Regions from separate parts of the Homo sapiens genome. Here region 1 is linked to region 2. The links are contacts of gene promoters, found by promoter capture Hi-C in blood cells and fetal thymus (Javierre and others, 2016). All regions are on one chromosome and are shown on one strand. Each heading gives the region's core, a stretch centred on a gene start or on the middle of the fragment in contact. The rest is flanking DNA. Distances are from core to core; before and after follow the strand shown. Region 1 overlaps HECTD4 (HECT domain E3 ubiquitin protein ligase 4). Region 2 holds the start of TMEM116 (transmembrane protein 116).

The links. The method cuts DNA at HindIII sites, captures the fragments that hold promoters and counts their contacts. A CHiCAGO score of 5 or more calls a contact.
Region 1: a contact is called between a fragment that was not itself captured here and the fragment with the promoter of TMEM116 in region 2, in 1 of 17 cell types (endothelial precursors). The highest score is 5.2, in endothelial precursors.

What each region holds. Positions count from the first base shown.
Region 1 is chr12:112,349,497-112,355,846 of GRCh38, forward strand. All of the region lies in intron 1 of HECTD4 (HECT domain E3 ubiquitin protein ligase 4), which reads right to left. Among named protein-coding and RNA genes, the nearest start is that of HECTD4, 30 kb to the right of the region's middle. The HindIII fragment of the contact is 520 bases long and covers 1,226-1,745 here.
Region 2 is chr12:112,010,319-112,015,993 of GRCh38, forward strand. TMEM116 (transmembrane protein 116) reads right to left here and starts at 2,847. Exons shown (of 11, transcript NM_001193531.2): 1 at 2,684-2,847. ERP29 (endoplasmic reticulum protein 29) reads left to right here and starts at 3,108. Exons shown (of 3, transcript NM_006817.4): 1 at 3,108-3,291. The coding sequence starts at 3,148. RefSeq lists enhancers at 805-1,318, 1,823-2,711, 2,582-2,771, 4,442-4,581 and silencers at 2,932-3,011, 3,352-3,441. The HindIII fragment of the contact is 12,495 bases long and covers 1-3,827 here.

The sequences.
Region 1 (6,350 bases), core at 236-2,735, 340 kb after region 2:
TATTTCCTTATCAAGTTACTTTCCAGTGAAGAGTCTAATTGGCAAAGATAAGGCATGCTCCTGGGGAAGAAGTCAGATGAAAACATCTAGTTTTGCTTCCCTCTTGTTATATGAATCTCAATCTCATGCTGAGAACAGATGGCAAAAAAAAAAATTGGCACAGAATGCAACTACGGCAGTACAAATATGGTGGTCAGCAGGAAATACATTATTCTTAATTTCAACCTTTTCCTGGAAACAGTGCCTGGAGTGTTATGGAGTAAAAATGGGTGAACAGGTGTAGGAGGATTTTATTTTTGGCAAGGGCTGAAAGCAAAGGAGAAAAATTAGTTTGATTTAAGGAGCCTACTTAATTCTAGAAAAGAAATAAAACAGACTGGGAACACATTGAATAATTTTATATTTCTGTAAATGTTCATATTTTTTGGAAAGGCTATCAATAATATGATATTTTTCTTTTTCTTTTTCTTTTTTTTGAGACAGGGCCTCATTCTGTTGCCCAGGTTGGAGTGCAGTGGCACAAACACAGCTCACTGCAGCCCCAAACTCCTGGACTCAAGTGATTTTCCTGCCTCAGCCTCCCATGTAGCTGGTCCCACAGGCGCGCACCACCATGCCTGGCTAATTAATTTATTTTATTGTTGAGACAGGTTCTTGCCATGTTGCCTAGGCTGAACTCCTGGGCTCAAGTCATCTCGTGCCTTGGCCTCCCAAAGTGCTGGAATTACAGGCATGAGCCACCACACCCAGCCATACGATACTTTTTATTTGGATACCAAATGTCTTCTTAGAACTCTAAACTCAAAATAAACGTGCCATTCTCATGATATGCTAAAAGGAGGTAATAATCATTTCTGGGGAAACAGTATGTGTTATCAGAAATAATATTATTTTGTATAACTTCTCTTGCTTTGGCTTCATTGATTTTAGAGCAGCATCGTCATGTTCTCATAAGCTTTTAAGTATTCTACCCAAGAATCTGCTTCTGAGAGGTTTAAAGTACCCATGTTGTTTTTCTTTATTAAGGATATGTACTAACGCTACACATGAAGCCAATGAAGTCAAACAGGCCCTCCCCAATCTGTCAGTATATTTTTATCTAACAAGTTTTAGTGTTCTTGGATGAATTCATTTTTCTAATCTTCAAAGAATCAAATATCTTTATAGTGTCCCTCAAGTGAGTAAGACTTTATTTCATCATAAGAAAAAATAATACAATTTTAAAAGCTTAAGGTTGCCAGCAAGACACACCCTCAATGTTCATTCTCCACATACAGCTTGCTCTGATTTATGGTGCCAGTACTTTTGGCCACACAATTCACTACACTTTGTTCTCCTGGTTACTGGTGTCAGTGACAGGGCTAGGTCAACTCTTTGGCTAATGTGGCTAGCTCAGTAGATTAGAACCAAATGCAAGTATGGCTCAATTTAAATTAAGGGCCCATTAGTCTCCCTAAAAAAGAGCTTAATTCCATGTCAGAAATCTACTGGAGTGTGAATGGCAGCATACATCATCACTTTCATTCAAAATGTGTGGTCAGCTTGGTCACTGGCCACCTCGTTTCATATTCTACAGAGGAAGACATGTTTGGTTTGGGTAAGGGTTTATTTCCCATGTCTTGCAGATCTGAAGATCTGTACCTAGCTTTCTGTGTAGGTATATCAAATAGCCAGTCCCTGCACTCCCCTCCTGACTTGCTTTATCAATGTTTTCAAAGAATTCAAATCTCTTGCTTCCAAATAGAAGCTTACTGTAAGATGAGCAGTCCCTGTGCACAAAGGAGACAAGGAGACCAGCCTCATGATCGCGTCAGAAGTGGTGGTTTGGCACTATCATCTCTAACCAAATGTGCAGGGCAGGGCAGGTTTGCATCTGCCAGGACACAGATAAGGGAGTATGGCTGGGCTTCCTTCTCCTATCTCAAAATATGGCTCATAACAGCATGGAGATCTTCTCTAGGTAACCAATTTAAATAATCTTTTAATAGTAGAAAACCAGGCCAGTGGTTTAGGAAACAAGTCTGTTTAAGCAAGTATTCCAACAAAGACAAATCTATAAATTTCCAGGTCTGTCTATAAACTATTCATAGTGGCTAAATAAATATCATGCTTTAATAAATACAAATTTCTAGGCAAGGGGTAAAAGTGAAAGGTGTTAATTTAGTGTGTTTAGTTGTCTTCTTGCATTAAAGCTACAGATAAATCATGGAAGATCATAAATGACTATTTTTACTTTTTTTATGCTACACTGACTGACATAAAGATTTTACTACCAAGGATGGCATAAGTACCTACGTAGTAACATAGCCTAATAGATAAAATTACTGTCGGCATGTTTAAAAGGCAAAAATTCTAACCCAAAGTATCTCAGTCATCTCAGTCACTAATCTTTCTGTTATTCAGTTTCTTAATCTTTAAAACAAAGACAGAATGAATATGGCCTACCATTTCCCTTCACTTTCCTATTTTGGTGTTTTCATTCAATTTAACAGATATTCAGCAAAACTACCACACTATGGGTAGTGAGAAGGCTGAGGAGCTCTCATATAAATGCATATGCAGTTATAGGGAAACTAATAACTTTTCCTATTAAGAAGCTTTTGCTTTTTAATTTTTTAAATTTTTTTGAGACAGGGTATGCTCTTGCACATAAGAACGTTTCAATTAGATGAAGAAAATACCTATGGTGGCGAGGAGGGGACATCAGAAGAATATGAGTTAGGGTAGCTGTTCTCAACCCTGGCTGAATATTAGAATTGCTTTGAGAGCTTTTAAACGAGACTAATGAGTTGGTCTCATCCCAGTCTGGTTACCTTAGAATATCTGTGGATGGAGCATCTTTTTTTTTTTTTTTTTGAGACAGAGTCTTGCTCTTGTTGCCCAGGCTGGAGTGCTGCAGCACAATCTCGGCTCATTGCAACCTCCGCCTCCTGGGCTCAAGCGATTCTCCTGCCTCAGCCTCCCGGGTAGCTGGGATTACAGGTGCCTGCCACTACGCCCAGCTAATTTTTATATTTTTAGTAGAGACAGGGTTTTACCATGTTGGCCAGGCTGGTCTCGAACTCCTGACCTCAGGTGATCTGCCCACCTCAGCCTCCCAAAGACATCATTTTTTTCCCTTCTTTTTTGAGACAAGGTCTTGCTGTGTTGCCCAGGCTGAAGTACGGTGGTGCCATCACAGCTCACTGCAGCCTCAACCTCCTGGGCTCAAGCAATCCTCCCACCTCAGCCTCCCAAGTAGCTAAGACCACATGTATATGCCAAAATGCCCAGCTAGTTTTTTGATTTTTTGTAGAGACAGAGTCTCGCTATGTTGCCAGGGCTGGTCTCGAACTCCAGGGCTCAAGTTATGCTCTTGCCTCAGCCTCCCAAAGTGCTGGGGTTGCAGGCATGAGACACCACAACCAGCCCAACATAAGTGTTTTAAAATAAGACAACCATCATTCTGGCTTGTGATGAGACCTTGTCTGTAATGAAGAAAACTTCAGAATTCCTATAAGTCAGTTGCCAAAAGGCTAGAAGCATCATTGATTTCCTGTTAGCAAACATCCATAACAAAGACTAAGTCCTTGCTTTACCCCAGACCAAAACAGAACATCAACTCTATGGAAACCAGCAGAAGAATTTCATAAGAACCAAGGAGCTGACTGACAGCCACCTGACTGGCAGCCACCATTACCAGGTTAAAACTATGTCTGATGATGTTTCTTGACAGCTCTGCGTTCCAAGAATGAGCACATGGCTTCATTACAATCAAGGGGCAACTTAAAGAACAGGTGAGGGATTCTTTCTAAGTATCTTTCTAGGCTAATGGATATTTTATCAAACCTGTCTTATTTCCCTAAATTCTAAACATGCTACTGAGAGAAAAGGCTCTAAAATTATTAACCCATGTACAGACTATTTTGTTTTTGTCATTTCTCTTATAGAAGAACATATATTACTAAAAAAAGTCAGCTTCGTATTGTCTTTTATATTTTGTAAAATGTGGCTCTTTCCTGAGTTTCAACAATGACTGGTTGAATAGAGATGAGTCATTTTAAGAAACTACAGGCGGGGTGTGGTGGCTCATGCCTGTAATCCCAGACTTTGGGAGAACAAGGAGGGTGGATCACAAGGTCAGGAGTTCGATACCAGTCTGGCCAATATGGTAAAACCCCATCTCTACTAAAAATACAAAATTAGCTGGGTGTGGTGGGAAACTACAACCAGATCCTTTCATGCATCAAAGAAAAACCCAAAATAAGTTCTAAACTTCAGCTTTAAAAAGTTAGGCTAGAAGAATCATTTCCTGTCCTCATAGAATCCACTTGCTTGCTGAAAATATTATAGAAATAGAACTTTATTAATGTGAAGGGTAATTTTAATCTCATCAGTTAACATTTGCCAAAATGGAATATGTGCTCGACAGGATTAATAATAGTGGTTTTTAGCCAGCACAGTGGTGCATGCCTGTTGCCCAGCTACTCAGGAGGCAGATGTAGGACAGTCACTTGAGCCCAGGAGTTCAAAGCCAGTCTGGGTAACACAGCAAGAACCTACCTCTAAGAATAATAATAATAATAGATTTTTATTTTTTATTTTGATTTTTTTTGAGATAGGGTCTCGCTCTGTTGTCTAGGCTGGAGTGCAGTGGCGTGAACACAGCTCACCGCAGCCACGACCTACCAGGCTCAAGCAATCCTCCCACCTCAGCCTCTTGAGTAGGCACGTACTACCGTGACCAGCTAATTTTTTAATTTTTTGTAAAAGCAGGATCTCGCCATGTTGCCAAGACTGGTCTTGACCTCCTAGGCTCAAGCATCCTCCTGCCTAGGGCTCCCAAAGTGCTGGGATTACAGGTGTGACCTATCACCCAATAGTGTCTTTTTTTAATCCATTGGTTTGAAATTCTTCACCCTGCCTCCTAAAAGAGACAGAAAGAGGGAAAAACCTGGGTATGTTATTCATAATGCTTCTATTAAAACCAAGGAGCAGCCAGTAGTTTGAGACTAGTCTGAGCAAACATGGTGAAACCTCGTCTCTACAGAAGATATAAAATTAGCTGGGTGTGGTTGTACACACCTGTAGTCCCAGCTGCTTGAGAGGCTGAGGGAGGAGGATTGCATGAGCCCAGGAGGCAGACATTGCAGTGGGCCAAGATTGCGCCATTGCACACCAGCTTGGGCAACAGAGCAGACTGTCTCAACAAAACAAAACAACAACACACACACACACACGCACGCACAAACACACATACACACAGCAACACTTCAAATCTCAAATTATTTTGGGTCACCACCAAAAAATTATATTCTCAACCATGGTCTATGCTGGTTATTCCAATCCTAGTTCAATTTCAAATCATCATAAATATTAAGAATTTGAGCCTTTGTACAAATAAAAACTAGACTCAAAACAAAGATGAGCGCTGCCCTACAGGTCAAATATTTATTCTATGCTATATTTAAATAAGCATAAGGTTAAGGGTTTGCCAAATGGGATTTTAATTTTTTTTTTTTTGAGATGGAGTCTTGCTGGGTCACCCAGGCTGGAGTGCAGTGGCGCTATCTCGGCTCACTGCAACCTCCGCCTCCCGGGTTCAAGCCATTCTCCTGCCTCAGCCTCCAGAGTAGCTGGAATTCAGGTGCGTGCCACCAGGCCCAGCTAATTTTTGTGTTTTTTAGTAGAGACAGGGTTTCGCCATGTTGGCCAGGCTGGTCTCAGAACTCCTGACTTCAGGCCCGCCTTGGCCTCTCAGAGTGCTGGGATAACAGGTGTGAGCCACCGCGCCGGGCGCCAAATGGGATTCAAAAAAAAAAAAAAAAAAAAATTGTGGGCCAGGCACGGTGGCCGACACCTGTAATCCCAGCTACTCGGGAGGCTGAGGCAGGAGAATGGCTTGAACCCGGAAGGCGGAGGTTGCAGTAGGCTGATACCGCGCCACTGCACTCCAGCCTGGGCGACCGAGCAAGAGACTCCGTCTCAAAAATAAAAATAAAGGCCAGGCACGGTGGCTCACACCAGTAATCCCAGCACTTTGGGAGGCCGAAGTGGACAGATCACCTGAGGTCGGGAGTTCGAGACCAGCCTGACCAACATGGAGAAACCCCATGTCTACTAAAAATACAAAAATTAGCTGGGCGTGGTGGCACATGCATGCCTGTGATCCCAGCTGCTTGGGAGGCTGAGGCAGGAGAATCGCTTGAGCCCGGGAGGCGGAGGTTGCAGTGAGCGGAGGTCGCACCACTGCACTCCAGCCTGGGAGACAGCGAGACTCTGTCTCAAAAAAACAATAAAAATAAAAATAAAAATAAAATAAAATGTGCCATTCTATTTCATTATATAAAGATTTATTCAATCACATTGTG
Region 2 (5,675 bases), core at 1,597-4,096:
TTTGGGGTGTCCATTTTCTGGCCAGAAACCTCTGTGGCCACAGTGCCTTTACCCGAGTTCTTGTCCTGCATCCAGGAAAAGAATGAGGTACGTGGACAATGAAGGGTGAACAAGACAAAGATGAACTTTATTGAGTGTTACAACAGCTCAGAGACCTCCAGTGGGTATTTCCTCTCTGTAGGCAGGTTGTCCATCAGGTATTCAGTTCTCAGTAGAGAGGAGGCCCTGGAGAGGATGGCTCCTCTCTGCAACTGATCGTCCTAATGTCTGCAGCTCTCAGAAGAGAGGAGGCCCTGGAGAGGGTGGCTCTTCTCTGCCCACAGGTTGTCTCTGCAGCTGTCAGCAGGGAGGGTAGGTCCTTTTTGCAACTGGCTGTTCCATCATCTCCAACTATCAGCAGAGAGGGTAGCTCCTCTCTTAGGCTTGTTGACCCATAGGTCTCTGCCCTCTTGGTCCTCTGGCAGTCCTCTGCCCTACTCTGGCTGAACCCAGGGTTTTTATGGACCTCCGAGGGGAGGAAGTACATGCCGATTGGTCCATGGGCAGGCCAGAAGATGCACCACGAGTCCCTACTCCAGTCTGCAGGACTGGCAGCCTGGACCCCTGTCTTCAGGCCCTCCCTGACCTGAAGGTGGGGTCTTACTGGGGACTCACCCACTTCTACCCTGGAATCAATCTGCCTCCCATTGCCATTCTTGGCCCCAAGCCCGCTCTGAGATTGGAGCAGGCCCCGGGAGTAGAGAGAGTCCAGGCGGTGGGAACAGACACTCCTGAGCCTGCAGGGATTGCAGTAGGGTGTCTTGCTGGTCCCCCAAGGGTGCAGGCTGCAGAGATGCCCAGGTCCTGCACCTGGGAGGGCAGCCACAATGGCACCAGGGGCTCCTGCCTCAACTCAGAAGGGGCGGGGCTCCCACAGGCTCCATGGAGTGTGCAGCCCCAGTCACACCTCCCTGCTGCAGCTGGCTGCCATCAATAGGGCAAACTCAAAATTTTTCTTAACTTCCCCAGACACATTCACACATACACACACACAAACACACACACACTTTCTTTCAAAATTTATATCCAATCAAACTGGTTGTCCATGATTGGATCCTGTTATCACTGTTGACTATTTATACACATACATTTTGGAAACATACAATGGTTAATTATAGCAGTAAGTCCCTTACAATGCATTGTATATGTTCTCTTACATGCATTTGTTCATCAAATCTTGTGAATTCTACCCTTTAAAAGTTTGTCAATTCCATCCATACTTCTTCAGCCCTATTATGTCCTACTGCATGACCTTAACCTCTTCCAACTAGACTATTGCCATACCCCATTAATTGGCTTTAGTCCCGTCTTCTCAATTCCAATCCATTTCCTTCATTCCTGAGTAATGTTGTTTTTGTTTTGAGACAGTCTTCTCTGTTGCCCAGACTGGAGTGCAGTGGCAGCAATCAGGGCTGACTGCAGCCTCGACCCCTCAGGTCCAAGTGATCCTGCTGCCTCAGCCTCCCAAGTACCTGGGACCACAGGCATGCACTACCACACATGGCTAATTTTTCTACTTATTGTAGAGACGAGGTTTCATTACGTTGCCCAGGCTGACCTGGGTGCTGTTTCTACACACAAATCTAACCTCACTCTCCTAGTTAAAACTTCTGGTGACTCCAAACCCTTTAGCTTGGTGAGACCCTTTCGAATCCGCCCCATGGAAGCTCAGTAATAATCAATCAAAATAAAAAAGAGCGGCAGCAGCTGTTGCGCCAGTTCGCCTTTACATAGATTCATCTCAACCAGTTCCCCAACATGCCTGTGCATAATTTTCCCATTGTTAGAAATGCCCTGTTTCTCTTTGCCTCATGCACGCCCCCTCTTATTTCAAGGTCCAGCTCAAAAGTCACCTCCTGTCTACAACTTCCTCTGATGCTCCTGAGCAGGGATGGCTGAATCTCTGTCTCTTTACAATAAGAAAATACGGTCTTTTTTTTTCTTTTTGAGACTGAGTCTCGCTCTGTCACCTAGGCTGAAGTGCAATGGCGAAATCTCGGCTCACCCCAACTTCCGCCTCCTGGGTTCATGCAATTCTCCTGCCTCAGCCTCTTGAGTAGCTGGGATTACAGGCACGCACCACCACACTCGCCTGATTTTTAGTAGAAACGGGGTTTCACCATGTTGGCCAGGCTGGTCTCGAACTCCTGACCTCAGGTAATCCACCTGCCTCGGCCTCCCAAAGTGCTGGGATTACAGACGTGAGTCAACGCGCCCAGCCGGAATAATATTTTACAGCAATTACACTGCACTGTTTAGATCATTATTCCTATGCCGCCTCCTCCCCCAACAAAGTGCGTGCCTTCAGCACACAACGGTCTTGTTTCTGCTTATTCCGTAGCCCCGCAGGCAAAGCCAGAGTCTGGCACAAGCCAGGGACCGAGTGACTACCTGCGGAACAGAATGATTAGAATTGCGTCTGGGGTTCCTGGAGGGTGGGCCTTGGCTGGGCGGATCCCAGGAGCCTGGCGTCTCCCAGGGGAGGCGCTCACCTCAGATCGGGCCTAAGAGGGCCCTGCTTGCCACACTGACCGCCAAGCCTGGCCAAAAAGCTCAGGGAAGCCGCGGAGCCACTGCCCGCCTGGGTCAGGGTGGTGACGGAGCCTGACTGAGAATAACGGCTGAACTTGACTAATAGACTGACCGAGGGTTGGAGCGGGTCCCAACCAACTGCCTGACGGCCCAAAGGCAGGAAGAAACGATGGTAGGCCTTGTCATCTTCGAAGGAGAGGAAGGACAGCAAACGAATTGCTATAGCGTCCCCATGCGCACTTGGCGCTTCTCCTCAAGCGGAGCAGGAACGGAACTGGGCGGACCCGCCGGAAGACTCGGCGAGTGCGCGCGCGCAGGAGCCCATTTTCCCGCCCGCAACGTGGCCCCGCCCTTTTACCCAGGCCCTACGCGAGCTTCGCCGAGTACGCGTGCGCAGCAGCTTCCCCTCCCTCGCCCCGCCCCTCACGTGGCCCCACCCTCTCACCCTAGACAGATGGGAGCCTCCTGGGGTGTCCACGTGAGCGCGCGTGAGTCCGCCCCCCCAGTCACGTGACCGCTGACTCGGGGCGTTCTCCACTATCGCTTACCTACCTCCCTCTGCAGGAACCCGGCGATATGGCTGCCGCTGTGCCCCGCGCCGCATTTCTCTCCCCGCTGCTTCCCCTTCTCCTGGGCTTCCTGCTCCTCTCCGCTCCGCATGGCGGCAGCGGCCTGCACACCAAGGGCGCCCTTCCCCTGGATACGGTCACTTTCTACAAGGTAACCGGGGCGGGGGACGTCGCGCGCAGGTGCCGCCGGGGCGCCCGGAAGAGCGCGCGCCCGTGGGGAGACGCTGGATTCCGGGAGCTGACGGGAGGTGGTCTGTAGCAACGGTCCCAGAGCTTCCCGGCGTCCTACAGGCCTAGTGGACTCTGAGCGGAGAATGTTATGACCACCGGGCATGCACGCTTCAGGGCCCCGGCGCACCCTTGCTTTTGCAGCATTTATACTTGCATCCACCCTTGCAAAGATGCAGCCGAGGGAACTGGGTGCCCCTTCCCTTCACCTGTGGGGAGAGGGCGGTGCCTGGCGAGATCCAACCCTCGAGTCCCAAGTGGGAGAACCGGAGGGCGGTGCGAGGTCGACGCCACCGGGCTCCCGGCTGTGGAAGCTGGGAGGGGTTGGCGGGGGGAAATGCAGGCGCGTTAGCCTGCGTGTCCGCGCCCCTCTTCCCAGGGTTGGATTGCAGCCTGCTTTGCAGTGTGCAAACAATGATCAGATATCATACATCTTGAATAGTGCAAGCGTGAAGAATAAGCTTCAGTTCAGCCACCCTGTAAAGCAGGGGTCCCCAACCACCAGGCCCGTCGGTGGCCTGTTAGAAACCGGGCCGCACAGCAGGAGGTGAGCGGCAGGCGAGCTAGCACTACAGCCTGAGCTCCGCCTCCTGTTACATCAGCTGCGGCATTACATTCTCATAGGAGCACGACCTTTATTGTGAACTACGCATGTGAGGGATCCAGGTTGTGTGCTTCTTATCAGAATCTAATGCCTGATGATCTGAGGCGAAACAGGTTCATGTCGAAACCACCCAACCCCGTGGAAAAGTTGTCTTCCATGAAACCAGTTCTTGGTGCCAAAAAGGTTGGGGATAGCTGTTGTAGGAAACATCTTGGGGTTGGCAACAAAATCAGTAAAATTGGGTCAAGGCATGGAAGAATTTGCCACTACCTCCGCCTTTCCCCCCTTCCATTTTTGCAGAATTAGGGATCCTGGCCTGAGTAAATGGACGGTTGGAAATGGTGGCTGAATGCAACACCGCAGTCCCAGTCCCCTCCTCTTGCACCTGTCTTCACCCACGAGCAGCTTTTAACTTCCTCTAGGAGATGGGCAAGCTTAGTGTTGCGAGAGAGCCAGTCATTTCATTTTCAGGTTTTGTACTCATTGTGGGGAAGTGAAACCAAGAAGTAGTTGTCTCCAGTGGTTGAAGTCTCCTATTTTCAAGCGTTCCCTGTCGTGGATTTGGCACTTGCAGCTCATTCAAGGCAAAGTTTCAAGAATTTAAAAGTGTAGGCCGGGCTTAGTGGCTCACGCCTGTAATCCCAGCACTTTGGGAGGCTGAGGCGGGTAGATCACCTGAGGTCAGGAGTTTGAGACCAGCCTGACCAACAAGGTGAAACCCCGTCCCTACTAAAAATACAAAAATTAGCTGGGCGTGGTGGTGGACACCTGTAGTCCCAGCTCCTCGGGAGGCTTAGACAGGAGAATTGCTTGAACCCAGGAGGCGGAGGTTGCGGTGAGCCAAGATCACGCCACTGCACTCCAGCCTGGGCGACAGAGCAAATACTCCGTCTCAAAAAAAAAAAAAAAAGTGTGGGCTGGGTGCGGTGGCTCATGCTTGTAATCCCGGCACTTTGGGAGGCTGAGGCAGGTAGATCACCTGAGGTCAGGAGTTGGAGACCAGCCTGGCCAACATGGTGAAACCCTGTCTCTACTAAAAATACAAAAATTAGCTGGGCGTGGTGGCGGGTGCCTGTAATCCCAGCTACTCGGGAGGCTGAGGCAGGAGAATTGCTTGAACCTGGGAGGTGGAGGTTGCAGTAAGCCGTCATCATGCCATGACACTCCAGCCTGGGCAACAAGAGCAAAACTCTGTCTCAAAAAAAAAAAAAATGGTGTAGGTGTGGCTGATTGGTTGTCAGGCATGCTCAGACACACCCTACAGCACCCTATGCTTTGGGGGCCTTTACTGGCAAAATGACACCCCTACCCCACCCTGCTCCATGGGAATCAGATAATATCACAGAACAAGTGTGACCCAAAGGGAAACTTTGCGCCATAAAGCTAACAGTGTTTTCTACTATTACCACCCTAGTCTAGGTCAACATTACAATAGCCTCTTCTCTGGTCTCCCTGCTTCCACTCTTGAGTCTCCACACAGTAGCCTAAGTTCTATATGACCTGACTCCTGGCTTCCCTCTCATCTCCCAACCATTCTCCTACTGTCTTTTGAATATTCCTTGCTCTTTACTGCCTTAGGATATGTTGCACTAGTTGTTCCTTGTGACTGGAATATTCTCTGCCCAAACTTTGAAAGGCTAGTTAGTTACTTCTCATCATTCGGGCTTAGGTTAAGTGTTTCCTCCTTAGAGTTCTTCCTTGAT